Regions from separate parts of the Homo sapiens genome. Here regions 1, 2, 3, 4, 5 and 7 are each linked to region 6. The links are contacts of gene promoters, found by promoter capture Hi-C in human tissues and cell types (Jung and others, 2019). All regions are on one chromosome and are shown on one strand. The core of a region is centred on a gene start or on the middle of the fragment in contact, and the rest is flanking DNA. Distances in the headings are between cores, read along the strand shown.

Region 1 (3,511 bases), core at 53-2,552, 140 kb after region 6:
GGTGACTCCAATGTTAGCAAAATTATCTTTGTGATTTTGCCAAATCTCCTAATCTGATTCCTCAGTTGTACGTCCATTTTCCTTTTACAGTGGATATTTCCTACAGAACTACTCCTGGGCTTTAGCTGTGTGTGTGTGTGTGTGTGTGTGTGTGTGTGTCTGTTTTAAATTTGAATCCAGTTTATGCAACCTCATTCCAACACCAAAAATAATTCAGTCACTTAAATGCCATATGGAATAAATAAATGTTTCAAAACAAATCAAACTTAATTCCCTGTAAAAATCCTCAGCATTGGTTACTCTGATTAAATATGTAAGGCCAGCAAAGGCCCAGGCTATTGGCAGGCTTATAAAGGAGAAATGAAAGGAATTAGAAAGCAAGAGACTAAAGTCACTTTATGAATTGATGAAGTGATGGCAGGAATGTTATTTTTATAATTTCTCAGAATAAAAAAAAAATACGGGTTTGCTGCCGAAAATTGGCTGGTGATCAGAGCCTGCCGAGTCACGCCAGGGCACATGCACTGTGTACGTGAGGGAGTAGATCATCCAGACTCTCATATTAGAAAATAACCAAAATTGGAGGGAAATCTTACCACTCAGTTCTATTCAATTCAAGAAACAAATATTGATTAAGCACTCTGGGAGAAGGGAGAGATTGAGTGTGTCATCAAGGAGCTTACTATATTTTAAAGGAATGATATAATTATCTAACAGTTAAAAAATTAAAAACACAAGTCACAAGTCTCATTTTAGAAGAAGGAGTTGATAGAGGTTGTCAGTAGTGATATCTACCCTGTATAAGGAAATTAATCAAATAAGATATCTGTGATTTTATGTTCTCAAAAGAAATAAAAGAGCAAGCTGTGAGTTAAACTTTATAATTTTAAGTTTACTGATAAAGTCAAAGAAGAAGAGAAAGAATTATTTATATTTCTCAAAATCTCTGTTCCTAAATGGCACAGCCAACATAAAAAATGGAGTTTTATATGAAACTAAAATATGTCACTTTTTCCCACACCATGTGGCTTCCTTAGGTGTCTTCTCTGGGTTAAGAGTTTGAACATCTTGGTCAAACATCAAAGTCAGATAGAAGTGAAGGAAAACTAAAGTCGTCGCCTCCAGGGAGATGTCATTGTGGAATGAATCTCTGGCCAGATTTTAATAACCTAAGAAAAGGAAATCTATGTTTGTAAATTGTATACATAAAATTTTGTTTTTCCTGTACCATCCTACAGGGAAAGAAATTAATCAATTTCTATGTCAAGATAAAAAGGGAGATCATTCAATATTTCTCCTGCAAACAGTTGTTAGCTTTGTGTTAGTCACCAGAGAAATGAAGTTCACTAAGACACAGTTGCTATCCTCAAGTATTTTATAATCAAATACTATAAACAAATTTATAACCAATTAAAATACAATGGGAAAAGTACTATAAAACAAATATTTATAATTCCTGTGAGAACAGAGATGAAATGGAAGAGAGGGACATTGTAGGATCAGGGAGATACACAGATGGTTATATTGAGGATTGAAGAAAGTACTCAGCTGAAAAGAGAAGGTAGAAGAGAATTCAGGCTGGAGACACTCCACAAAGATATAGAAAGAGCATTTCACCTTGGCTAAATTTAAGCACCCAGTAGGTTGAGATATGATTTAATTTGGCTATTTTTTTCTGCATGTCAATTATGAAACGCATCTAAACATTTTTGAATATGCATACCCAAGATAAGTGTATTTCTGTAGTTATCACTGCTGTTACTGTTGTAAATATAGGCAAAACTCAACCTGTGTCTAATTAAAAAATGAACAACAGCAATAATAATAGTAATAACAATAATTGCTACCATGTATTGATCAAGGAACTTTCTTCCAAACTATTTTAAATGCTTTTTGTGAATTAACTCATATACCCTTTGAAACAACCATATGGAATAGATACTACTATTAATCCTTTTTTTATTAATGAGAAAAATGCAGGTGTAAACACACATATTAAATTTTTCTACCCACACTCCATAGATCATCTTGCACACAAGAACTCTCTGCAGTAGATGTTATAGAGACCAGGTGCAATTATTATAGAGACAAGGTGTGGTAGTGACACGCAGGGCCCTGGTTGAGTATCTTGATGAATATTAGAGGTGCTTGAAAGTGCATGTGTTTGTGTGTGTATATGTGTGTGTTTAAGCATGGCAAGAGTCGGTATTAAATGTCAATGAACATTCTTTCCTGCCTTTGGTTTTTCATAAAGTGGTTTTTATTTTCAGTCCTATAATTAAACAGGTAACCTCTCTGGATCTTTATTATCTCTTTACTAACCTTGACCTTTATCTATTGCAGAATAAGGATGGTATTAGGGAGAAGAGATTTATTGGGTGCCAGAAACTGCAAGGGATAAAAAAGTAATTTCTTTTTCACCCATTGCTAGGTTCATGTGAAAAAAGCATGTGAATTTATTTAATGTAAGTTTTACATGACATGGGAGCCTTTGTAAATGAAGACCCAAGGAAACAGGAAAACCTATATATTTTTATGCTAGGTTTGATGAAGCGTGAATAGTTGCTTAGAAGTATAAATGAACAAAGTATGATCTAATGGTAATAAAGTAGGGGAATTTCGCAAGATCTTCTGCTTCAGATTCTTCTTCATGTCCCTGTGTCCTCAGAGGTAAAGACATTACTTTCCTCTGGGAATAAGGAGGGCATCTCTGGAATGAGGATCTTATGATTCACTCAGAGGAAGTTTAGATAATAATAATTATTATTTTTTTGAGACGGAGTTCCACTCTTTTTGCCCAGGCTGGAGTGCAATGGCGTGATCTTGGCTCACTCCAACCTCCACCTCCCGGGTTCAAATGATTCTCCTGCCTCAGCCTCCCGAGTGGCTGGGATTACAGGTGTGCACCACCACACCAGACTAATTTTGTATTTTTAGTAGAGATGGTTTTTCACCATGTTGGCCAGGCTGGTCTTGAATCCTGACCTCAGGTGATCAGCCCACCTCGGCCTCCCAGAGTGCTGGGATTACAGGCCACCATGCTCGGCCAGATAATACTTTTATGGCTTCCATCAGGGGACAAGTGTGGGAGAATGTGAGAGTGGCCTTTCTGCTTCTGCTGTTTTCTCAGATGCTGAGGTATCGTGTTTGGGGTATCATGTCGGGAACCCTATCAATAATAAGAGTTTCCTCATTATCTAAAATCAATGTTCTGTTCTGGTGCTTAAGATCATTTATATGGTATTTCTTAAAACCAATGACTTCATAAAGCTTCTAAAGTTGCAATTAATTAACTGGGCAACTGTGTTGTTTTTCTTATTTATTTTTCAAAATAACATTTTTTTCAAATCATATATTTGTGACATTTTCAATGTAGAAAATTCGAGGGAAAAGAAAAACATGATGAAAACATCATGACTGTACTTTCCCTCATCCAAAGAAAATATTTTGGACGTGATGTACTTCCGTTATTAAAGTATTGTTATCATTTCTAGACAGGTTTAGTCCTTCA
Region 2 (4,110 bases), core at 1,510-4,009, 200 kb before region 6:
GTAAAGTAATGTTGGCACTGCCCTGTATTACATTGCATTTTAATCTGAATATTTGTTTGTTTGCTTTGTATTGCTTTTCATTGCTGGAACTGCTCAGTTCTTAGGAGAATAAGAGTGGGTGATCTCCCTGGTGACTTCATCCCCTTAGCTGGCATCAGTGTTAGGGTGCAGGATGCCCCTCCAGAAGCTATTCAGAATTTGCTGACATCAGCCTTCATTCATGAGCGCTTGCTTTGTTTAGTGATGGCACTAATATGAGGAGACACGTGAAGTAGCTCAGTTTATAGAAAAGGGCAGAAGAGGCATGGTGCTGTGAAAACATTCCCACACACACTAACGGCTCATTCACACAGAAAACAAGTGAAAGCCTTCAGTCCCTTCACAAAGCTTAACGAGAACAAACTGCTTCAAGAACCCAGAAGCAGCAGTGTTCATATTCACCACTAGTTTACACCATTTACATTTACTGATAATACACATGGCTAGTGGCAGCAATGGATTGCTGTGGGAAGTCTTTAAACTCTTTCTCTATGGGTTTTGTCGGTGAAATACTTATTTATTTGGTTGCGTTCCTGTGGTGTAGATGACTTTTCAAGTACACTATAACACAGTGACTTGCAGGCCCTGAACTCCTTTGGTCGCTATAGAGAGGTTGTTGACAATATGCTGTACTGTGATTTCTGGTCTTTCCTTATTTTAGACTCGTTTAAAGGAGTTCAGAATTTTAGCATAAAAACAAAGTTATAGTCAGCTCCGGCTGGTTGTTTTCAAAAACTAGATGGCTTTAAAAGAGATGATCAAATCCATTCTTGAAAAGTTCTTTTTAAAGTCAGGCTTCCACTATGAATATATATGTATTTCTGTGTACATATATAACAGAATATATGTATTTCTGCATACATATATAACATAATATAACATATATTAACCCCTCATTTTTAGATTTCAACAGGGAATGCAACATTTCACACTGCTAGATTTTTTAAATGACTCTTGTTAATCCATTTATGTACCAGATTCTTATCTTCTTGTTATATTTAAAAATTATTTTTACTATTCCACATCTAAAAATGAGTGAGATAATGTGGTATTTATCATTCTGTGTCTGGCTTATTTCGGTTAACACGGTGTCCTCCAGGTTCATCCATGTTGTCACAAATGACAGGATTTTATTCTTTTTATGGCTGAATAATATTCTACGGTGTATATTTGCCACATTTTTTATCCATTCATCCACTGTTGGACACTTAGGTCGATTCAATATATTAGCTATTATAAATAGTGCTACAGAAGTTGAGAGTACAGATATCTCTTTTGACGTGCTGATTCCATTTCCTTTGGCTATACATCCAGTAGTGGAATTGCTAGATCACATGTTAATTCTATTTTGACTATTTTTGGGGAACCTCCATACTGTTTTCCATAATGGTTGTACTAGTATATATTGCTACCAACAGCATATAAGTGTTCCCATTTCTCCACAACCTTACCAGCACTTGATTTCTTTTGTCTTTCTGATAACCACCAGTCTAATTGGAATGAAGTAACATCTCGTTGTGGTTTTCATTTACATTTCCTTTATGATTAGTGGTATTGAGCATTTTTTTCATATAACTAATGGCCATTTGTATGTCTTCTTTTGAGAATGTCTATTAAAGTCTTTTGCCCATTTTTAAAATGAGGTATTTGGGGGTTTTTTTCCCATTGAGTTGTTTGTGTTCCTTTATATATTCTATATATTAACTCCTTGTTAGAAGTATAGTCTACATATATTTTCTCCCATTTGCTAGGTTATCTCTTTACTCTGTGAATAGTTTCCTCTTCAAAAGCTTTTTAGTTCAATGAAACTCCATTTGTCTCTTTTTGCTTTCGTTGTCTGTGCTTTTGAGATCTTATTTAAAAAGTCCTTGCCCACCCTAACGTCATAAAGCATTTTCTCTGTGATTTCTTCTAGTTGTTTCATAGTTTCAAACTTTACATTTAAATCTTTAATTCATTTTGAGTTGATTTTTGTACATAACATGAGTCAGGGTCTAGTCTCATTCTTTTGCATGTGATTATTGAATTTTCCTAGCACCATTTATTGAAGAGACTACTTTTTCCCCAATGTGTGTTTTTGGCATCTTTGTCAAAAATCAGTTGGCTGTAGGTGTTGAATGTATTTCTGGTCTCTCCATTCTATTCTATTAGTCTATGTGTCTGTTTCTGTGCCAGCGCCATGTTGTTTTGGTTACTATATCTTTGTATAATAGTGTATTTTGAAGTCAGGTGGTGTGATCCCTTCCACTTTGTTCTTTTTGCTCAGTATGTCTTTGGCTATTTAGGGTATTTTGTAGTTCTACAGAATTTTATAGTTGTTTTTTTTTTTTTCTATTTCTCTGAAGCAGGGGTCCCTAACCCCCAGGCCACAAACAGGCGTATGGGTCTGTGGCCTATTAGGAACTGGGTCGCGTAGCAGGAGGTGAGCAGCAGGTGAGAGTGAAGCTTCATCTGTATTTTATAGCTGCTCCCCATCACTCGCATTACCGCCTGAGCTCAGACTCCTGTCAAATCAGCATCTGCATTAGATTCTCATAGGAGTGCAAACCCTATTGTGAACTGCGCATGCAAGGGACCTAGGTTGAGCACTCTGTATGTGAATCTAACACCTGATGATCTGTCAGTGTTTCCCATCACCCCTAGATGGTATCATCTAGTTGCAGGAAAACAAGCTTAGGGGTCCCACTGACTCAACATTATAGTGAGTTGTATTATTACATTGTAATACATAATGAAATAATATATAACTATATATTACAATGTAATAATATAAATAAAGTGCTAATAATATAAAGTGCACAATAAATGTAATGCACTTGGATCATCTCAAAACCACCTCCCAACCCTGTGGCTGGTCTGTGGAAAAACTGTCATCCATGAACCAGTCCCTGGTGCCAAAAACATTGAGGACCGCTGCTCTGAAGAATATTATAGTTATTTTGACAGGAATTGCATTAAATCTGCAGATCACTTTGGGTACTATGACCATTTAAAAAAAATTCTTCCAATTCATGAATATAATATGTCTTTCCATTTATTTGTGTCCTCTTCCATTTATTTTTCATCAAAGTTTTACAGTTTTATTGTAGAGATCTTTCACCTCCTTGGTTAAATATATTCCTAGGTATCTAGTTTTTTTGTAGCTATGGTAAAAGAAAGTTTTAAAAATTCTTTTTCAGCGAGTTCACTATTATCCTATGGACATGCTACTGATTTGTGTATGTTGATTTTGTATCCTGCAATTTTAGTGAATTTGTTTTTCAGTTTGACTAGTTTTTGGTGGAGTCTTTAGAGTTTTCTTTATGTAAAATATTATAACATCTACAAATAGGGACAATTTGACTACCTTCTTCCCAGTTTGGATGCCTTTTATTTCTTCCTCACCAACTCTGGTGACCTTTCCACCATCAGCAGCCTTCCTGTCCACTGCTTTGATGACACCCACAGCGACTATCTGTCTCATAGAACAAATAGCAAAATGACTCAGAGGATAGTCAGAAAAGCTCTCAACACAGGAGCTTGCCAGGAACCATATCGACAATGGTAGCATCACCAGACTTCAAGTATTTAGGGCCATCTTCCAGCTTTTTACCAGACTGGCAATCAATCTTTTCCTTCAGCTCAGCAAACTGGCAAGCAATGTGAACTGTGTGACAATCCAGTACAGGGACATAGCCGTCACTGATTTAGCCTGTTTGGTGCAGAATAGTCACCTGAGTAGGAAAGCCATTTGTTTCCATTGGTGGGTCATTTTTGCTGTCATCAGCAATGTTGGCACAGTGAACATCTTTGACGTGCACATCCTTGACATTGAAGCCCCCTTTGTCCCCCAGAAGAGTTTCGCTCAAAGCCTCATGGTGCATTTCAACAGACTTTTCTTCAGTTGTAACATTGACTGGAGCAAAGGTAACCCAGTCACCACTCAGAACACAGTAACAGTATCAAAATCACCAATTCTGTAGAAATCCTGGAGAGGCAGACCACAAATAAGGGCTTGTCAGTTGGATGAGTTGGTGATAGGATGCATTGCAGAGTTTCAAGCAACATAGTTCCACTGGCATTGCCATCTTT
Region 3 (3,605 bases), core at 932-3,431, 180 kb before region 6:
CTTAATGTATTTCTTTCTTTCTTTCTTTCTTTCTTTCTTTCTTTCTTTCTTTCTTTCTTTCTTTCTTTTTTTTTTTTTTGAGATGGAGTTTCTCTCTTGTTGCCCAGGCTGGAGTGCAATGGTGTGATCTCGGCTCACCGCAACATCCACCTCCTGGGTTCAAGCGATTCTCCTGCCTCAGCCTCCCAAGTAGCTGGGATTACAGGCATGTGCCACCACACCTGGCTAATTTTGTATTTTTAGTAGAGATGGGGTTTCTCCATGTTGGTCAGGCTGGTCTTGAACTCCCAACCTCAGGTGATCCACCCACCTTGGCTGCCCAAAGTGCTGGGATTACAGGTGTGAGCCATGGCACCTGGCTGCCTTAATGTATTTCTAATACTAATAATTAATTACAACTCTATCATTTAAAACAGAAAATCCCTTTTCATCTTATTTATATTATTTATTTTTATGTAATACATATTTTGCTTCCCACTGCAGCCAAAGCTATCCATCATATTGTTGCCAGAATTACTACTGACCAACACAGCTATGATGATCTTACTCCCTTGATCTCAAAGTTCAATGCCTCCTCATTTTACACAGAAAAAAGTTCAGAATCTTTGTCATGACATTAAATTATTCTCCCAAGGCCGGGACCAGACTGCTATGCCTCATAGGAACCACTTCCCAGAGGATTACCATGCATAGTACTTCGTTTTTTGCCTCAAATCCTTACCCTCTATTTTGTGCTTTAGAAATAGATTCATTCTTCTGGTCTCCAGGCAGGCTACCTCCAAATCTGTGGCTTCTTCCAGTAGTTATCTAGGACTCATGGTTTGCATTTCTTTTTTTTTTTTTTTTTTTGAGACGGAGTCTCGCTCTGTTGCCCAGGCTGGAGTGCAATGGTGCCATCTCGGCTCACTGCAATCTCCACCTCCCGGGTTCACGCCATTCTCCTGCCTCAGCCTCCCGAGTAGCTGGGACTACAGGCGCCCGCCACCACACCTGGCTAATTTTTTTTTTTTTAATTTTTAGTAGAGACTGGGTTTCACCGTGTTAGCCAGGGTGGTCTTGATCTCCTGACCTTGTGATCCACAAGCCTCGGCCTCCCAAAGTGCTGGGATTACAGGCGTGAGCCACTGCACCCGGCCCATGGTTTGCATTTCTTTCATCTAGTCTTACCTATGGTTTATTAATTTCATACACATAATTTTCCCCTTTTAGTCAGATTGCCTGAATTAATTATTCTGTCCTATTGGGATATATGTATTTTTATAAGTTACTTCAAAATCTTTCTGGAAGGCAATGAGATATAAATACATACATACTAAAAATAAAATAAAATCTCTTCCTTCAATGCCAAGCTTAGAAGCAATTTCCTCATGAAGCCTTTTTAACTTCCCATCTGTCAGAAATATTTGCCTGATCCTTTGTACTCCTGTGACTCTGTTGATATCTTCTTAACAGCATTCCAATTCACAGACTTGTATTTCGGCTACGCATGCCTGCATCCAGCTCTTCTGACTTAATTGTAAGCATTTTTAAATTTCATCTTTAATTCCCCTTCATACTTTGCAAATGTCTTCTTACATAGTGCAATTTCTGATAAGAAATTCATAGTCGTTTGAATCATTGCTTTGCAATATGTAATACGTCATTTTTCTTAGGCTGCTTTCAAGATTTTTTTCTTTGTCTTTAGTTTTCAGCAGTTGGACTTTGATGAGTCTGGGCATGGGTTTCTTTGAGCCTATCTTGTTTTAGTTTCACTGAGCTTCACGAATCTGTAGCTGTATGTTTTGCCACATCGGCACATCTCCAGCTATTATTTCTTCAAATATTGACTTCTACGCCACACACTCTCTCCTCTCCTTCTAAAACTCTGATGACGTGTGTTAAGCACTTTATGTATTGTCTCATAGATCTTTGAGTCTGTTCACTTTTTATTTCCTTCTATATTTTCTATTGTTTACATTGGATATCTATTCACCTGTGTTTGAATTCACTGACATTTTTCTCTTTTATCTCCATTCTGTTGTTGAGTCCTTTCAGTTATTTTTTATGTTGTTCATTGTATTTTTCAGTTTTAAAATTTCCAGTGATTCATTTTTTAACTATCTTCTATTTCTCAGTTCAGGCTCTCTGTCTTTCATTTCATTTCAAGAGTATCTGCCATTACTTCTTAGAGCATGGTTATAATACCTCTTAAGTCTTTGTTAATTCCAACAATTGTATCATCTCAGGGTTTGCATCATTGGCTATATTTCCCCTTGTGTGTTTTTGAGATTTTTCTGTGATTCATATCTTGAGAAACTTTTTATTATATTCTGAACAGTTTTAATATTGTGTTATAAGACTCTAGGTATTTTCAATTCTCACAGGAAATGTTAATTTATTGTTGTTGCTGTTACTATTTTAGCAGGTAGTTGACTCTGTTAGGTTCAGGTTACAAAAGCTGCTCTATCTTCTGTGAGTTGTGGTTCCAGTATGTTTGTTTGGTTTTCAAAGTGTTTGCAATGTTATTCAGATGTATCTTACTTGTAAAAGATCCATATGCCTGTCTGAAAACTTGGTGATGATATACCCCCAAATGCAGCTCTCAAAGTCATCAGTATGTTTGTTAAGGTCAAATCTATGCATACACAGCTAAGGGATAAACTCAGGTGATCAAATGCAACTTCATAGGATAGCTTTCTCAAGCCACCTCCTCTCCATGATCTCTCTGATATTTTTTTTTTACTCCCAGGGCTCTCATATTGTTTCTCTGACCAATAATCCAAGGCTTTTGTTTCCTCACTTTGTCATATATTTCTCGAAGTAGCATCTGCCTCCAGGGTTCTGTGATAAAGGAATAGAGAGAGAAAAAAGGAGTAGGACTCCCCCCATGCTTTGGGAACATACTTTCTCTAGTCAGAGAAAAGATGTCTCCTCCATTGGAGTTTTAATTACCTTCCACTGCCATGGAATTGCCAGAGGACTGGGATGGAAATGATTAACAGAATTTTTTTTTTTTTTTTTTTTGAGATGGAGTCTCATTCTGTTACCCAGGCTGGAGTGCAGTGGCATGAAGTTGGCTCACTGCAACCTCCGCCTCCCGGGTTCAAGCAATTCTCATGCCTCAGCCTCCCTAGTAGCTGGGACTACAGGCACACACTACTACGCTCAGGTAATTTTTTGTATTTTTAGTACAGATGGGTTTTCACCCTATTAGCCAGGATGGTCTTAGACTTCTGAGCTCAGGCAATCCGCCTGCCTTGGCCTCCCAAAGTGGTAGGATTACCTGCATGAGCCACCCACTGTGTCTGGCCTGATTAACGAATATTTTTCCCATTCACTCTGATCTGTAGGGCCCTTCTTTCCTATTTTTGTACCAGTAGGACAGGGTTTTTCTTGGCACTTTCTATCTGTACCTGGTATACAATTCCAGTTTTTGTTCTGCTTTTAAGTCCAGGCCAGGAGGTGCAAGAGTAGAGAAAAAAACTAAAAACTAAAAACTCATCACTGGTTTGATGGCACTTCATGTTCTGGTCTTCTTCCCCAATTTGCCTTTTATTATTTTCTTTTCAGCAACTTCAGATATCTGCTTCATGTGTTCTGCCCAGGGTTTATAGTGCATTCAGTGG
Region 4 (3,999 bases), core at 1,265-3,764, 250 kb before region 6:
GAAGGAAACCTGGAGAGATTCTGTCTAAAGGCTTAGTGATTACCTAAACAGATTCTACAAATTCAATAAGGAGAATATATAAACATTTTCAGATACCTCTGTGCTTATTAAATATATATATTTTAATAGCAACTTTTATTAATCCTCCTAAACTGTAACCATTTACTGTCACTCAGCTTATTAAGAGTTGATTACTCAACAACTGAAAGACAGCAACAGAGAGCAAGATGTCAGAGTAGAAAGGTAGCTTCTCACCACTATAAGTAAATAAGGAGACCCACATGGCAGAAACTAAGTTTTTTCACCAAAGATCTTTCTCTTGGGGAGGGAAGAAAAGGTAAGGGAGCACTTTCTGATGTTTTTGGTTGAGGAGATAGAGAGACATAGTTCATTTTTCCTTAGGAGTCATCTTACACCATGGTCACAGGGACAGCTCTGATAATGATCTGGAAGTATGAACTAAGGTTTCTTAGGTGAGTCCAGGATGGCACAGGCCAAAATAAAATTATGTTGTTATTTATCACTTAATGATAGCTTTAGCACTCCAAAGATGATAACTTTAAAAATAATTATGCAATTATTGAAACATTGACACTTCTTGGTTGTTTTGGGTGCAAATCAAATGCTTTTTAAAATTCTATGACTTTTCACAAGTACTACATAATGATCGTACAAAATTTATTTTACATGGAACCTAGGCTTTGAGGGATTACTGGGTTGTTCTTTTACAACAGTGGGACGTAGAATGTAGAAATTATTTAACAGAGACATAAAAGTGAAATCTCTTTGGCAGAAAAGTTTTCTGCTTATTGGGCATATATATATTGGTAATATGTAATTGATAAGGGAAGATACAGAACATATATGTGCCTCTATGGTGTTATCTTCTCCACTTTGTCACATGTTTCTTTCCATTATTTTCTAAACAAAACGTATACGCAGTGGCTGGTAAGGTAGCAGGATCAAATTATTTTTAATTTTTTCTTCATGTCAAAAATAAGACCTAAAGTATATTCCTTTAAGGATTTATAAAGGTAATATGGTAAAATAGATACGTATTAGTCCCCTTTCCCAGCTAAACTTCAATCCCTTGATAATAGATAGATAGAGTCTTAATAAGTTTGGAGACACAATAATGATTTAAAATCACACATAAAACTATGCTAACATAATCTAAAATCCCCAAACCTTATTTTACCACTTAGGCTTGCAGGAAGTCTGGAGCAACTTTATATTGTGAGGATTCTCCTGACCCACACCAGGTATCAAGTTAGTGTAGATTCCAGGCTCAGAGATCCATTGATCTTTTGATCTTAGCATGTCATTTAACAAAGTTATTACTCTCTTTTTTCCTATCCTAAAATGAAGATGCTAATTATCTACCTAGAAAGATTAGAGGACATAATGAATGAGTAATCACACAATAAAATTATGAAGTGCTATACAAATGTAAGGAATTACTATGACTTCATTGCTTGAAACTTAGGTATTAAAATGTACAGTAAACAGAGAATTGCACAAGGCAGACTGCCATGTGAAGATCAAACAGTAGCGAGCTGTTTTGGAAACACTTTTTAAATTTCATTTTCTCAAATTTTCAAATTTATCATACCTATGAGCTTTAAACTTTGCTGAATACATTTTAACATTTAAAAAAACTTTTTGAAATCAGCAATAATGTTCTTAGAGCTGTAAAAACATGATGTTCCAACTGCACTTTTTTATAAGCTTTGTACCCTTTTCTTGGTTTTATTGCCAAAACAACCCATGGAAACAAAAGATGCAGAAAAGATATGAAAGGAAGTAACGACTGCTGAGCAGTTATCCTGTAGATGAATAATAGACAAGTAACATAAACAGATGCAAGCCTAACACGAATGCAAAATGAATGAGAGGAAACAAACAGCAAAAGCAGTTACAAAGTTAGGCAGTGGGAGTGGGCATTCATCTATCTCCCTTGGAAAATGCTCCATTGCTGACAAAACAAAGTCCTTCTTCACTGTAACATAATCATTGTTTTAGATGTTTCTATCCTTTTTTGACCTAGTAAAAACAACAAATAAAAAAATTATTTTTTAAAAATGTAAGACCCCATATAAAGCATGCTAACATCCTTAGTTTGTATTCATGATATTTCAATAAGCATCTAAAAATTAATTACTAGGTACTCATAGATATAATATGAAATTCCACCATTTGTAACCATTCAGCAATTCAACCACCCAGACATCCCACATAGAGAGGATTGCCTGTAACTACCCTGCCTAGATTCAACTTCACGTCCACCTCTCTTCTCTCTACAGAAGACAACAACTTTAACCCTCTGTCCTGTACCATTTTCAGAATGATTTGCTACGATCATTGCTGTTTTATTTTTATTAAATCAGAAAATGTACTCTAAGAAAAGTTATTCTTGTTAAGCCCAAAATGTAGCCTGGAAATTCCTGGAAACTAAGTAAAAAAATCAAAAGTATTAGTCTGTTTTTGCACGGCTATAAAGAACTACCCGAGACTGGATAATTTATAAAGAAAAGAAAGTTAATTAACTCACCATTCCACATGGCTGGGGAGGCCTCAGGAAACTTATAGTTAGGGCAGAAGAAGAAGCAAGGCACAGTCTTCACATGTCAGAGCAAGAAAGAGAGAGAATGAAGGGGGAAACTGCCAAGCACTATTAAACCGTCAGATCTTATGAAAACTCACTATCATGAGAAAGCATGGGGGAAATCCTCCCCGTGATCCAATCACCTTCCACCAGGTCCCTCCCTCAATACATGGGAATTACAATTCAACATGAAATTTGGGTGGGGACACAGAGCCAAACCATATCAAACAGTTTTCATTAATTCTTATTTCTGATAAAAGGGTTATGAGTTTCAGAGAAATTTTCCTTTCACCAACCCGAGAGATATTTGTCATATGGGTGTATATATAGGAAACACCAATCTAATAGACATATTCAAAATGTGTTAATACAAAAATAATATTGTGAAGTTTTAGTGACATATGTAGTAATATAAATGGCCTTTAATAATTATCACCTCTACTAGGGACAAGATTATTGATTACTTTTTGTGTTTACATTAATATTGAATGAATGAATGATTAACATTCCTTAAACACTGCAAAGATTATCAAGAAAAATAAAAAACAAACGTCTTGTTTTTTATGTTATCTTAAACAGGCAAATTAAAAAAGATGATCTATTTTTCGGTGCCAAGATAACAATGCATTTTAGCATCTTGTTGCATATCTTAGGTAATCATATTATTGATTCTACTACATAAACTATTTTGTTGCTCTCAGGCCTGTTTCTGATTCATATTCAAAATAAAAGCATGAATTATATATGAATGAAAATTCAAATGGCATTTTTAAAATTACCTTGAGTAACTGTAAAATATTATAATAAAATATATATTATCTATACTTACTCAAGACTGTGCTCTCACATTAATGCCTATTTGGTGGCCTAGGCAAGGACGTTAGTGGATTGAACACACTACATTAAAGAATAAATTCCTCATATATTAGCGCTTTCACAGCCTGTCTCTTGAAGGAATAAAGGACAATACACAAACCAGAAGGAAGTCAAAAGTAATAGAAGGAAGGAAAGAGGGAGAAAGGGAGGAATGGAGGAAGGGAAGAATGAAACATGAATACATTGAGCATACCATTTATAGCCCATGTTGCTTGTTTCAGTGGAGTCAATTTCACCTTCACATTTATACATAAATAATATATATGCATATAAATACTTACATTTGTGGGTGTATATATTTTAAACAAAGTAGTAGCATATCACAAATGATTCATGTAGAAATGTGCTAGGCAAGTGTAACGCTGGACTATGGAACTTTACCTGTGGTTTATAAAATGAACCTCATTTACAGGAAGAGCACAAATTTAAGCAATAACAGAAAGAAGTTTATCCACATTCCAAAATGATTGCTAGGGTTAATATGCCAGATTGATTTATTGATCCACTACCACATTGCC
Region 5 (3,589 bases), core at 873-3,372, 140 kb before region 6:
CAACCTTCTAATATTCTATACTCAAACTATTCTCTAATATAATTCTCAAGAGACTTCATCTTACAAGACACTTCTATCTTTGCTAGTTAACCATACTGATCACCGTGCAAATTTCCATTTCTCTTTTACTGATCAGCTCAATGATCATGCTGAAGCCCTTTCCCCATCTAGAATCTATTAATTTCACCATGTAAACTCTCTGCTTTATTGCAGTACTGCAATAATTTATGTAGCTATCTAATTCTTAAATAGATTTGAACTTTCTCAAGGGTAACAACAGATCCTTGTTCATCTTTACATTCCCAGCATTTAGAATATTAGGTACACACACAAGCACACCAGCCTTCTCCTCAAAAGAATCTCCCTTGTTTCCAATGTCAACTCCCTATTTATTCATCTCAGATACTAATATTCCAATATCTCCTTATTGTCCCCTAAATCTGAGGAGTCTTTAAGCAGCTGCAATTTCCCCCTTGTTTCTTCCTCTGAATTAAATGTGGATGGAAACTCACGTTGGTAAGTTAATAAGATAAAGGTCTGTACTTCCAGAGTTTGAAGCTATGATCACCAAAGTGTGATTTTAGATATGATTCAGGGCAAAATTATACCATGGGAAGCTAAAGATAGCATAGTAGAAATTAATATACTATTAACAATAAGTAGACCTCTCAGGCCACTGAAATAGCAGGAACTCTTCTGAAATAAAGGCGAAAACAGAAGAGATCTTGCAAGTGCAGTAGGGGCCAGGATCCAGTTTTACAGCCTCAACCACAGAGTGATTCTAGAACAGAGTACCAGCAGTTGTACTTAGAATGGACCTTCCCAAAGAAGGTGGGGAACACTCTAAATCAACCACAGCTGGCCTGTCTTCTAGTGGCCAAGGTAGTTAACATTAGGTCATATGTTTAAAAAAACAAATCTCAGTGGCAACACGAACAAAAAAGAAAAGTCTATTTCTCACTCACATTATAATTTCTCATGAATTGGATGATATGATGCTGTTAAATTAAGCATAAGGCCTCTGAGGTGACTACAGAAAAAAAGGAGAGTGGGGATAAACATAGAGATCCTTTACCAACAGGCATGTAAGTGGCTTGCATCGTATCTGCTCACATTCTATTAGCAGAACAAGTCACACCAGACCCCATCCACATGGCCCTAACCTAACTGCAAGGAAGTGAAAAAGCTAGATTTTCTGTGTGCCAAAATTAAGGAAATTAAAAGAGAATTTGGTTAGTATGGCATTGTAGCCATCACAGTAACCTTATGTGTATCATACTTTTAGTTGTGCAAAGACAATGCCCCCTCTTTTTTAATCCACTTATCCCACATTTAACCAGGTATACAGATGAAATTCAGGATTAAATATCTTGAAAACATTATATAACTGAGAGAGGAAAAAGAAAAATTTATTTTTAGTCAAAATATCAACGACGAGAAACATATTTGTTCCTCTTTTTTAAGAAGGTAGTTAGAAAGCAGAAAAGCACAAGGCTAAAATTATAGGGAATGGGACAGTATTATACCATATTAGCAATTTGACTTCTTGAGAGTTACTTGAAACACTAAAGTTCAGCTTCTTCATTTATAAAGTGAAAACAAATTAGACTTTTCCGCCAAGGTTAATTCTGTTAGAATTATCACGTGCATGTTAAATGCTTATAACAGTATCTGCTACAGAGAAAGTGCTCAAAAACAGGGGCTATTATGCACAGTATTATGACCATTGTTTCTGTTACTATCATGGTTATTATTACGTAGATCCACTGGACAAACAAAATCCTGTTATGTCCCAAAGAATGAGAACTCCATTTCAAGTAATCTGGAACAAAACTTCCCATATATTATGTGGCAATCTTTTAATGGCAAAGTTCAAAGTTAACATTTTGAAATGAAAAACGGAAAATATGTATGTATCAAATCCTTTTCTGGCTTCTCTGTGCTATCAGAAGGTACTTAGAATTCTCTGCATATTCATTCACCTACCTTCTTCTCCAGCCTTTTCTCTTACTACTCCTTCCCCTTGCTTTCTGGTCTTCAGCCATATAGATGTTCATTTAGTCCCTAAAATATACCTCCACAGAGGGCTTCTTTGCATAGCCTATCTGCTTTGATAACAAGGGAAGAAAACAGTGTCTTGCAGGCAGAGCAAGTAGCCTGTACTTTCTGATAGCTAAAACAGCCCTTTCTAATAAAAGCTTTCCCTGGGCTTGCTGTTGTTCAACTAACTGTGAGAGGTGCCACCAGTGCAACTGCAGCTGTGGGAATCACAATGTCACCAGTTAGCAGAAACTTAGGAGCCCAGATTTTCACTGGTGTTAAATCTCTCCTGATGCTGCTGGGACGAACCTGGAGTCTCATATAGTCACCATGTCTGCTGATATTACTACACCGGCAGCCACAAACTGGCAGCAGGAAAAACAAAGTCTTAATGCCTTCTTTTTTGCTTTGAGCCTCCTGAGAGTACCTCCTATTAGTAAAGAAGCCAAATGGCAAAGTTTTCTAAGAAATGTAGTTTGCAGGTTTCCAACCCTGGAGGTACAAAAGACAACATGTTTGGAGTTATAACCAACAGAAAACCTGCAAAAAATCCTACTATATATTCTCATAGTATTATATATCACAACTTCAAAAAATCCTGCTATATATTCTCATAGTATTGTATATCCCAACTTCATGGCATCTAGCACTTTTCCAACTCACTTATGTATTTTTTAAATTAATCTCTCTCTCAGAGAAAAGTAATCTTCATAAACATAGTGAAAACTGTCTTATATTTACATTTTATTTTACTCAATATGTTAGCATAAAACCTGGTTCACAGAGGGCATGCAACAAAATTAAGGAAATGAATAAATGATATGACAATTAATTTTAAGTTATCACAAATCATTTGATAAAAGAATTACTAATATTCTACCGAAATGTACTGAAGAATTACTATTTTTTATTCATTACTGAATAAAGTGAATTTTTTATTTTTCACATATTTGTGAATTAGCTTCAAAGTTCATATATGATAATGTGTCTTTAACCCTTTGTATTAGTATAATCTACTTTGAATGAGTTAGGAAAGGACAAGAGTATTAGAAACACATACCAGCAACATCTTATCAAAATCATAGTCCAGAGTTCAGTTAGGTGGGTGGTGGTGAAGAATGGACCACACATTGGTAGAAAACGTTGTTGGATAATAGCTGACCTAGAAGACCCTTCTAGCACAACTCAGAATTCTCCAAGGAATTCCAAGGCTTCTGCCCTCATATTTTCTTTACTACCCTCTTCTATCCTTACTATGTTAGAAAATGCATGTCTTTTAATGTGTACTTGTTCACTAGAGAACTTGTTAATGCATTCAAAGCTTGTTTCACTGTATCCAGCCATAAAACAAATTTGTGACTTATAATGGATTGGTGTAAGGAATAACAGATAAAATAGGAGTTTAAAGCACTTAGAATCTATAAAAAGCTGCAGATGGGCTAAATAATATTTTCAAAATGTTTATATATATTTGCAACTTTTTCTGTGCTCTCTAGAAACTACGTGCCATGAGCTCTATTTGCATATCCATGAAGAATTAGTTGGGTTT
Region 6 (3,788 bases), core at 675-3,174:
ACGCCCCCAACCACGTGACCAAGAAGGGCCGGAATTTTGTGAATGGAGACGAAAGGTGGCTGTTGGGGCGGGCGGGACTCCGCCCCCTTCCCTAAAGCGGCCAATCTCCTAGCGGAGCGCTGAGGGGTCAGCAATAAACAACAATGGGCTGGGGATTTACGGCTCGTTATTGGCTGCGGGAAGAACCTCGCCGGGACCTAACCCGAAGCTCCGCCCCCTCGCGGTTACCCTGGATACCCGTCAGGCTCGGGCTGCAGAGAAGGTCTTTGGAAACTGTTGCTCAGATTACAGGCGCTGGGTTATTCCAGGAGTGCAGGGTGGTGGAGGACCCTTGTTATTGACCCCCTGCTTGGTTGCACCCTCAGATAGTACCCATGAGCTTCACTGTTCAGCCTCGGGGCCCAGGCGCTTCCTGGAATCTCTCCTTGGCCGGGGTTAAAATGCAGTTCCCGCTCAAAATGCTTATAGGTGCGCGCGTTGTGAACTCCGATTTAGTAGTTTCCGGGAATGCGCGGGGTCTGTCTTTGCTGTCCATAGTTATTGGTTGTTTTCCCAGTAATAAGTGTTGATTGTTTGTTTGTTTGCTTCTTTTTTAAGTAGATCTTTCTCCTGCCCAGGTCCGGGGTTGAGTGCTGTGCGCTCTTACACTCCATTTTAATGTGTCTCCATAACGTTCTATTTAAGGAAGGAAACTTTCAAATAGAAATTGAGAACTGCAGCACGTTTCCTAACGGGCGGAACAGCTGCCGGAAACGTCTTTTGGTCACTAGTTCTGGTCACAAATGAATTTCAACAGCATTGAGTCCCTGGTCCTATCCCCGCGGCCTCCCGTCCGCTGTTGGACACTGGCTCCTTAAAGTGACGCTTTACTGTTCTGAGTCCCATAGGAGGATCAGGGCAAGTGGCTTCAGAGATGCAGCCCTCACTGCTTAACGTCCTAGTTATTGTCCTTGAAACCCGAGCCATCTCACCGCTCGCCCCCAACCCTGGGCTCTGGCTGTTTAAAAGCTGGAGAGGAAGTGAAAGCGTCAAGTACAGTAAGTGACACCCTCCGCCTCCGTGTATACATAACAAAAGCTCAGGAAACGTGCGGGTTCTAGGATATACGAGCAACCCCAAGCACTCCCTCCTCCTCCCCACAGCCACAGTGGACTGGAAGTACCTTTTCCCAGTGCACACGTAGGGACCATTTTGACTTATACTTTTTCACCTAGCTTGCTCTGTTGTCCTCCCATCACAACCTCTGCTAATCAGCAATTCTGCATCTCCTAGGTGCCTTCCTTATAGATTCTTTATGTTTCTGTCCCACGAACGATAGGATCTAATTTTAGTTGAGGATGACTGTTTAAAAAATGTTTCGATAAACCATAATGGTGATGGTGGGTTTTGAAAAACGGGAAAATAAATTGGGCCAAAAGCTGAGTGGGAATGAGGATAGAGAGCGAGGTGAGCTCCTAGTCAGGGCAAGAGTAGAGAGGTTGGAGATCCTGAGGGGAGGGCAGCTGAATAAGGCGGTACGGGCTTTGTGGATCGCGGCTCTAAGGGTATACCAGAACCGCACAACAGTACTTTAAGGAAACCAGCCCAATAGTGGACCTAACACCCCAATAATGGGAACTGGCGACTCGAAACACACGGTTTCAGTATCCCCAGGCGCCTTAACAATAAGCAGCGGGTTACAGAGGAAATCGAGTCTCTCCGTGGCGCTTCCAGGCTGAGGACCCAGCGCCTACCGGCCGAGCACCCCCTAGGGCAGAGGGGCGAGGGAGACCCGCGGGAAGGGGCAGCAAGCCGCCTGATTGACAGCCCGAAATCTGATCTTGTGAAAGAGACGCGGAGCCAATGGGAGGCAGCGATCCATCAGTTTGGATTGGAGGCCCCTGGAGGAGAAGTAGAGGAAAAACCACCGAATTGAGCTCTGTCAGAGGCGCTTTCGGCTTCCAAGGGGGAAGTGCTGGGCTATAATTAATGTTTTTATTAAATTTGGAGGGAAGTTTTTGCAGCCTTTCGCCTAGCGTGGCCTTCAGGTGGGTCTTTCCAACAACTTTTTATGTCTCTCCAGATAATTGCATGGTTGTGGGTCGCAAAAACTATCCTGATGAAAGAGGTGTCTCCGTCTCTTTAGTCCCGTTAGGTGCAAAGCAAGTCTCGTTGATCGCCATTGCTAGTTTTGCACACGTTTGCGAATCAGAGCTGCCCGGGGTACACCGACCGCGCAGGGAAACATCGAGAGTGTAAATAAATACATCGCCTCTTGTTCGGATTTTTGCTACTACCGAAAATATGTAAATTGTGAACTCTGTTGGCTCTCTTTGGATCCAGGTGAAGGAGGCGGTGTAGGGAGGGTTATTTTTGTGAATGGGACTGTCGGAGGGTAATTAGCTATGCAAATTCAAGAGCTTCATTCATGATTTTTTTTTAAGCCTAAAAGCCATCTTGTTCCCCTCTAGGTTGATAGAAGTCCAGATCCTGAGGAAATCTCCAGCTAAATGCTCAAAATATAAAATACTGAGCTGAGATTTGCGAAGAGCAGCAGCATGGATGGATTTTATGACCAGCAAGTGCCTTACATGGTCACCAATGTGAGTGATCAGTTTGAAAGTTGCTGTTTATAAACTTGACTCCGTCGGGGGTGGGGAGAGGGAGAAAATGAGAAGGGAGGGGGCACGGGGGTTGGGATTGCAGATACTTATCTGCTTTGTTGCCACTGTAGGGCGACTCTGCTTCTAGAAGCCCAGTCTTCAAAATGAGCTTACCTTTCAGTGATTTGGATAAGGCATAGTTTTGTTTTTAAGACCCCTTTTTCTGATTAAAGTGCCCAACATGAGTGGAAGAGGAGATGGAGGGCAGCAGCAGCTGCTGCACTCAAAGTTTTTGGCTGGGTTTGTCTGCCACATTGAAAAGAATGAAGTTGAGACAAATGCTGACACTTTTTGTTTATATGGGGTGTTTTTGTTTCTTTTTTTTTTCTCATTTTCTCTTTTTTTTTTTTTTCATTTCTCTACTCTTTTTGCTTTTTTTTTTTGTGGGGGTGGGGTGGGGAGGAGGGGCTGTCCAAGAGAGAATAAAACCCACTGTTTTAATCTAGCATTGAACCAGCCTAAAAACAACTTTAAGTGTAAATGCTTCAGGTTGTTTTGATGCTGAGATACCATGAATATATGATTGATAAATAGTAATGTGCTAAGATCGGCACTGGGAAGCAACTCTCCCTGCCTGCTTAACATAAGCTTTCACTGTCAAATAAGTGAGAAAATGAATATTAGAGTTGATACTATGGACTTCTATTTTTCTATTCAGAGAAGATCCATTAGACTTATGTATGCATGTCTGTGTGTGTGTGTGTGCGCGCGCGTGTGCGTGTGTGTGATCTGAGGTTTACATTCTTTTAAAGGATTTTATCTTTCCCTTTGTAGAGTCAGCGTGGGAGAAATTGTAACGAGAAACCAACAAATGTCAGGAAAAGAAAATTCATTAACAGAGATCTGGCTCATGATTCAGAAGGTGAGGTTTGATTTTGGGCTGAATCCCCATTTTTTTACCTACACTCTCCACCCTGCTAAAAGAAAAGGAGCACTTCAGTCTTATCTTAAAAATAATAAACTTTGAAATTACTGAATCTAACTAAGACTTTAACTTGGAACGATTTACATAATGCGGCAGTTTGCATGGGAGACTATTTTATGGTCCTATCACAAAGTAATGAAAGAAGGAAATAAAAACTTCTCAATGACAACCTTCTTTTAATCATTGTTTTGTGTTTAAATACCTTTGTCCATGGGGCATAT
Region 7 (3,775 bases), core at 1,180-3,679, 220 kb before region 6:
AAATATCACAAAACATGAGAGTAAAATCACAAAACACGAGAGTAAATATCACAAAACATGAGAGTAAAATCACAAAACATGAGAGTAAATATCACAAAACATGAGAGTAAATATCACATAGTAGAGGCTAAGGAAAGAGACTTCATGAGGAAGTAATGGTCACACGTTTCAAATACTGCAGGAATAGCTATTAGGATGATGAAGCCCTTTGATTTTAGCAGCGTGAAGATATGGGACCTATACAATTTATATGATACAGTCTCATGAAATGTTGAGGAAAGGAGCCAGATTTGAACAGTTTGAGAGGTGAGTAGGAGAACACAGTGAAGAAACCTATAAAGATGTTTGATTGTGAAAGAACACCTTCACCCTGGGGAAGGTGATAGCTGTAGGGGAACATAACATCTACAGAGGTTTTCTTTGAAGAGGATTGCAAGTGGATCAATATATTCAGATGGCAAGGATACAGTGGAGAGGGGGAGTGCATGCAAAAATCAGGGAAATGTGGGTGTATAAAGCAGGAAGAGATGGGTTTGCTTTATAAAGTCAAAGACAGAGGTGTCACACATCTATGGTAACAGGAAGCAGAGAGGAAAGGTAGGTGCTGGTTTATGTAGATTCTTAGATGGCAGACTGCTAAAGCAATCCCACTGATTTTCTCTGCATTAGGTGACACAGTCATCTCTTGAGGTGAGAAAGATTTGAAGACTTGAAGAGAGGGACATAATCTTTGTGTTGTTGGACATGTGAGATTTGATGTTGCGGAGACTAATGGACTGATGATCTCCACCATTCTCACCCGACCACATTGATTCATTCTGAAAATCAGGTGCATGTTGAGACTTTGGATTGAGCCAAGTCACATTAAAGCTCTGTTGTGATTCTGGCAACATATTAAAACCCTGTTATTTTCCTGGAAATGATATTTAGAAATAGGATTTTAAAATGAAAAGTTAAATGTCTGCAGATTGTGCACATGGATATGTAAGTAACTAAACTGAAAGGACAAAGCAGCCATCACACTGGAGTGCTATCTTCTAATTAGTCTTGAAGAGTTGGCTGGCTGCCTGTGGGCCTGAAATGAATTCCTGTTTGCCTTTGTATTGAGTTAAAGAGTCAGGCATTTGCCCCCAGTAACGGAGGCATTGCTGCTTCTTGCTTGGCCATTGCACCACCAGATGTATCATATAAATACTCTAATGGATAGTGGTGGACTAGGAACATAGGAGATAATCTGATGCAGGCAGATGCTAGCAGTCAAGATTACTCAAGCTGTATTGAAATTTCCTTTGCACCTGGCACTGGAGGTGTTAGCCATGCCAGTTCAATCCCCCCAACACAGATGTTCTTGTTGTACCACTTTGTATGTATAACATTTAGGTTTCTGTTCAGCTTTGCCACAGTACACATAAATACTGTAATCCAAAGACCACCCATTTATTAGTGCACCTGCATATTCAACCAGATTTCTTTCATTCTTTTCAATGAATGCTCAACATTAAAAAAAAAAAGACAGCCATAGGGTGAATAACCTTTTCAATTTGCCAGATAGCTTAACAAAATGATAATATAATGATAAAATAACAATACCAGAGCCCCCCCATGCAAATCCACTAAAACAGTGTTGCCAAAACATGAAAATAAAGTGAACTCTGTTTAATCAAAAGGATATTTTATTAACTTATGTCTGAAGTTTTTCTTTATTTCTTGTTAGGGAAGATAGACTATTTAAGTAGGTTATTTTTTCCAAAGATAAACGCTTCTTTTTTTCTTCAAATGGGAGATTGGTAAAGCTTACCTCTTAAGGGGCAGATTTTGCTGAATGTGAACCTCTGGAGCCCCCATTTTAAATTAATAGGAGTGGAGCTCTGTGCAGCTGAAGACTGCATATGACCTCCTGAATATAGGATAAAAAAACCTTTGGAAGGAGACAAGATCATTACTCCAGAGAATAGCCTTGTGTAGTTGCTGTCCTACTGAAGTGGAGAAAGGGCATCCAAATGTTTTGATCTTGTTTTTATAGTTGCAAGCAGTGTCTGTATCTTTCCAAATACCCAATCTTGTCGTATATATCTCTCTATGAAAAGGAATTTCAATGCTACTTAATTTTGGTTTAGGGGGAGATGGGACTGACTTTAATTATTCATTTGAAGCAAATAAATGTTTAAACATGAGATACAATTTAAAAATTGATGAATGGTGATGGTTTTTTAAATTTGGCGTTTTTTTTTTTTCTATCAGTAGTAATAGTTACTCAGGCTTATACTCATGTCCTCAATATATAAGGACTGCTTGTTTCCCACTCAGCATCTAGCTATAATTATATTCTGTTTGAGACATGTGCCCTACAGGAAAAAAGAGAAACGATGTATGCAAGTATGTCGATATTACTCCAGTAATTTAGTAAGTCATTGTATAGAATATATAGGCTACCAAGAAGCAAGCCAATTAAGAGATGGAGTGGAAAGAAGAGGAGAATCCAAAAGGAAGAAAGTAAAAAGGATAAATGAAAAAAAAAAAAACTAGCTATTTCCAGGAGGCTATGAATATTCTTTTGTTTATTTCTAACAACTCTTGGAGCACTCATATAGGACTGAAAAAACACTAGCTGTGTTTTCAGTGAATAAAGAATCAAGCTAGATACAGAGGCTACCTAGTACTTCTATATTTCAAAACCAAAGCGAGAAGGCTAGAATGCAGAAAAATGAAGAATGGAACCAATAAAGCCGGTTCCTTTAACTGTCGTAAAATTAATGCAACTATTCTCGTTTTGAATTATTTTACTCAATACAGAAATACTAGTATATGTGTACACACAAACATAAAGAAATATCAATGCATAACACAGAAGAAAGAGGGAAGAAGATGTATAAAGAGGGAGAAATTGAGGCTGTTTACAATCCCTTGCAACCCAGCAAAAGGGAGGGAAACTGTTTGAAGTAGAAGTTGAACCCCCATTAATCCTTCCTGCCTCCTACTTCAAACATGAAGATTAAGTAGAATATACTTCTTTATCCTAGACTGGTCTTTGTTTTCTTCAAGTTTTTAAGGCCTTCTAATACTGCACTTCCACCAGCAGTTTAAAAACCCGAATACTAGTCCCCACTATTCCTGTTCCATCCCTGAAATATTTTTTCAAGCTCAAGTAAATGTTTTATTTTAATTGTTAGCAGTACTAGCAACTATTAAAGGTCTGTCTTGGGCCAAGCATAGCACTAAATGTGTTGAATATACTCTCTCACTGGATATTTTGTTTTATTTTACTGGAGAGACAGGTGCTTATACAGATTAAATACTTTTTTCAAAGTCACACAATTAATAACTTAAGGAGCAACAATCTGGACCCAGAACTCATATAAAAGCTTGCATATTTAATCACTGTAAAACTTTACTGAGAATATCATAGAGTAGAGCTTTACAAACAAACTTCTATAGAAGTTCATCTACAAAGTTCTGTAGATGCTGGTTCAAGGTTCAAATGAGAAATTGTGCTGACAAGTCATATATAATTTTGGGGATTATTCATTTTACATTTTTTTAGTTCACTTTGAAGATAGAGTATTGGAATCCATTTCCTTCCCCTCTTTTGTTCCACATTTATATACTCATCCTCATGGTTTGTGTGCCCTGGTTCCCAAGTACAATAAAGGAGTAAAAAAAGGTTGCCACCTTAAGATGAAAAAACAGTTTTATTTTGACACATTTATCAGTCAGGATTTTTACTTGTAAACCACAGAATCCACTCTCATTTGTGGGAGGAGAAAAGGAACATGTT

Evidence for each region. Contacts are between HindIII fragments. The study calls those that stand out against the background at their distance.
Region 1: a contact is called between a fragment that was not itself captured here and the fragment with the promoter of ETV1 in region 6, in 1 of the 25 tissues and cell types used here (IMR-90 fibroblasts).
Region 2: a contact is called between a fragment that was not itself captured here and the fragment with the promoter of ETV1 in region 6, in 1 of the 25 tissues and cell types used here (dorsolateral prefrontal cortex).
Region 3: a fragment that was not itself captured here is called in contact with the fragment with the promoter of ETV1 in region 6 in 1 of the 25 tissues and cell types used here (dorsolateral prefrontal cortex).
Region 4: a fragment that was not itself captured here is called in contact with the fragment with the promoter of ETV1 in region 6 in 2 of the 25 tissues and cell types used here (hippocampus and mesenchymal stem cells).
Region 5: a fragment that was not itself captured here is called in contact with the fragment with the promoter of ETV1 in region 6 in 2 of the 25 tissues and cell types used here (heart left ventricle and mesenchymal stem cells).
Region 7: a fragment that was not itself captured here is called in contact with the fragment with the promoter of ETV1 in region 6 in 3 of the 25 tissues and cell types used here (adrenal gland, dorsolateral prefrontal cortex and heart right ventricle).

Annotation. Positions count from the first base shown.
Region 1 is chr7:13,845,723-13,849,233 of GRCh38, reverse strand. No RefSeq gene overlaps it. Among named protein-coding and RNA genes, the nearest start is that of ETV1, 140 kb to the left of the region's middle. The HindIII fragment of the contact is 7,098 bases long and covers 1-3,511 here.
Region 2 is chr7:14,191,437-14,195,546 of GRCh38, reverse strand. The region is part of intron 23 of DGKB (diacylglycerol kinase beta); the gene reads left to right. It also overlaps the pseudogene EEF1A1P26. Among named protein-coding and RNA genes, the nearest start is that of ETV1, 200 kb to the right of the region's middle. The HindIII fragment of the contact is 3,302 bases long and covers 1,109-4,110 here.
Region 3 is chr7:14,166,609-14,170,213 of GRCh38, reverse strand. The region is part of intron 25 of DGKB (diacylglycerol kinase beta); the gene reads left to right. Among named protein-coding and RNA genes, the nearest start is that of ETV1, 180 kb to the right of the region's middle. The HindIII fragment of the contact is 6,821 bases long and covers 1-3,605 here.
Region 4 is chr7:14,236,961-14,240,959 of GRCh38, reverse strand. The region is part of intron 23 of DGKB (diacylglycerol kinase beta); the gene reads left to right. Among named protein-coding and RNA genes, the nearest start is that of ETV1, 250 kb to the right of the region's middle. The HindIII fragment of the contact is 3,921 bases long and covers 554-3,999 here.
Region 5 is chr7:14,129,846-14,133,434 of GRCh38, reverse strand. No RefSeq gene overlaps it. Among named protein-coding and RNA genes, the nearest start is that of ETV1, 140 kb to the right of the region's middle. The HindIII fragment of the contact is 3,180 bases long and covers 533-3,589 here.
Region 6 is chr7:13,987,802-13,991,589 of GRCh38, reverse strand. ETV1 (ETS variant transcription factor 1) reads left to right here and starts at 1,924. Exons shown (of 14, transcript NM_004956.5): 1 at 1,924-2,027; 2 at 2,126-2,322; 3 at 2,451-2,582; 4 at 3,417-3,504. The coding sequence starts at 2,538. RefSeq lists an enhancer at 1-404. The HindIII fragment of the contact is 5,948 bases long and covers 1-3,788 here.
Region 7 is chr7:14,207,633-14,211,407 of GRCh38, reverse strand. All of the region lies in intron 23 of DGKB (diacylglycerol kinase beta), which reads left to right. Among named protein-coding and RNA genes, the nearest start is that of ETV1, 220 kb to the right of the region's middle. The HindIII fragment of the contact is 5,240 bases long and covers 1-3,775 here.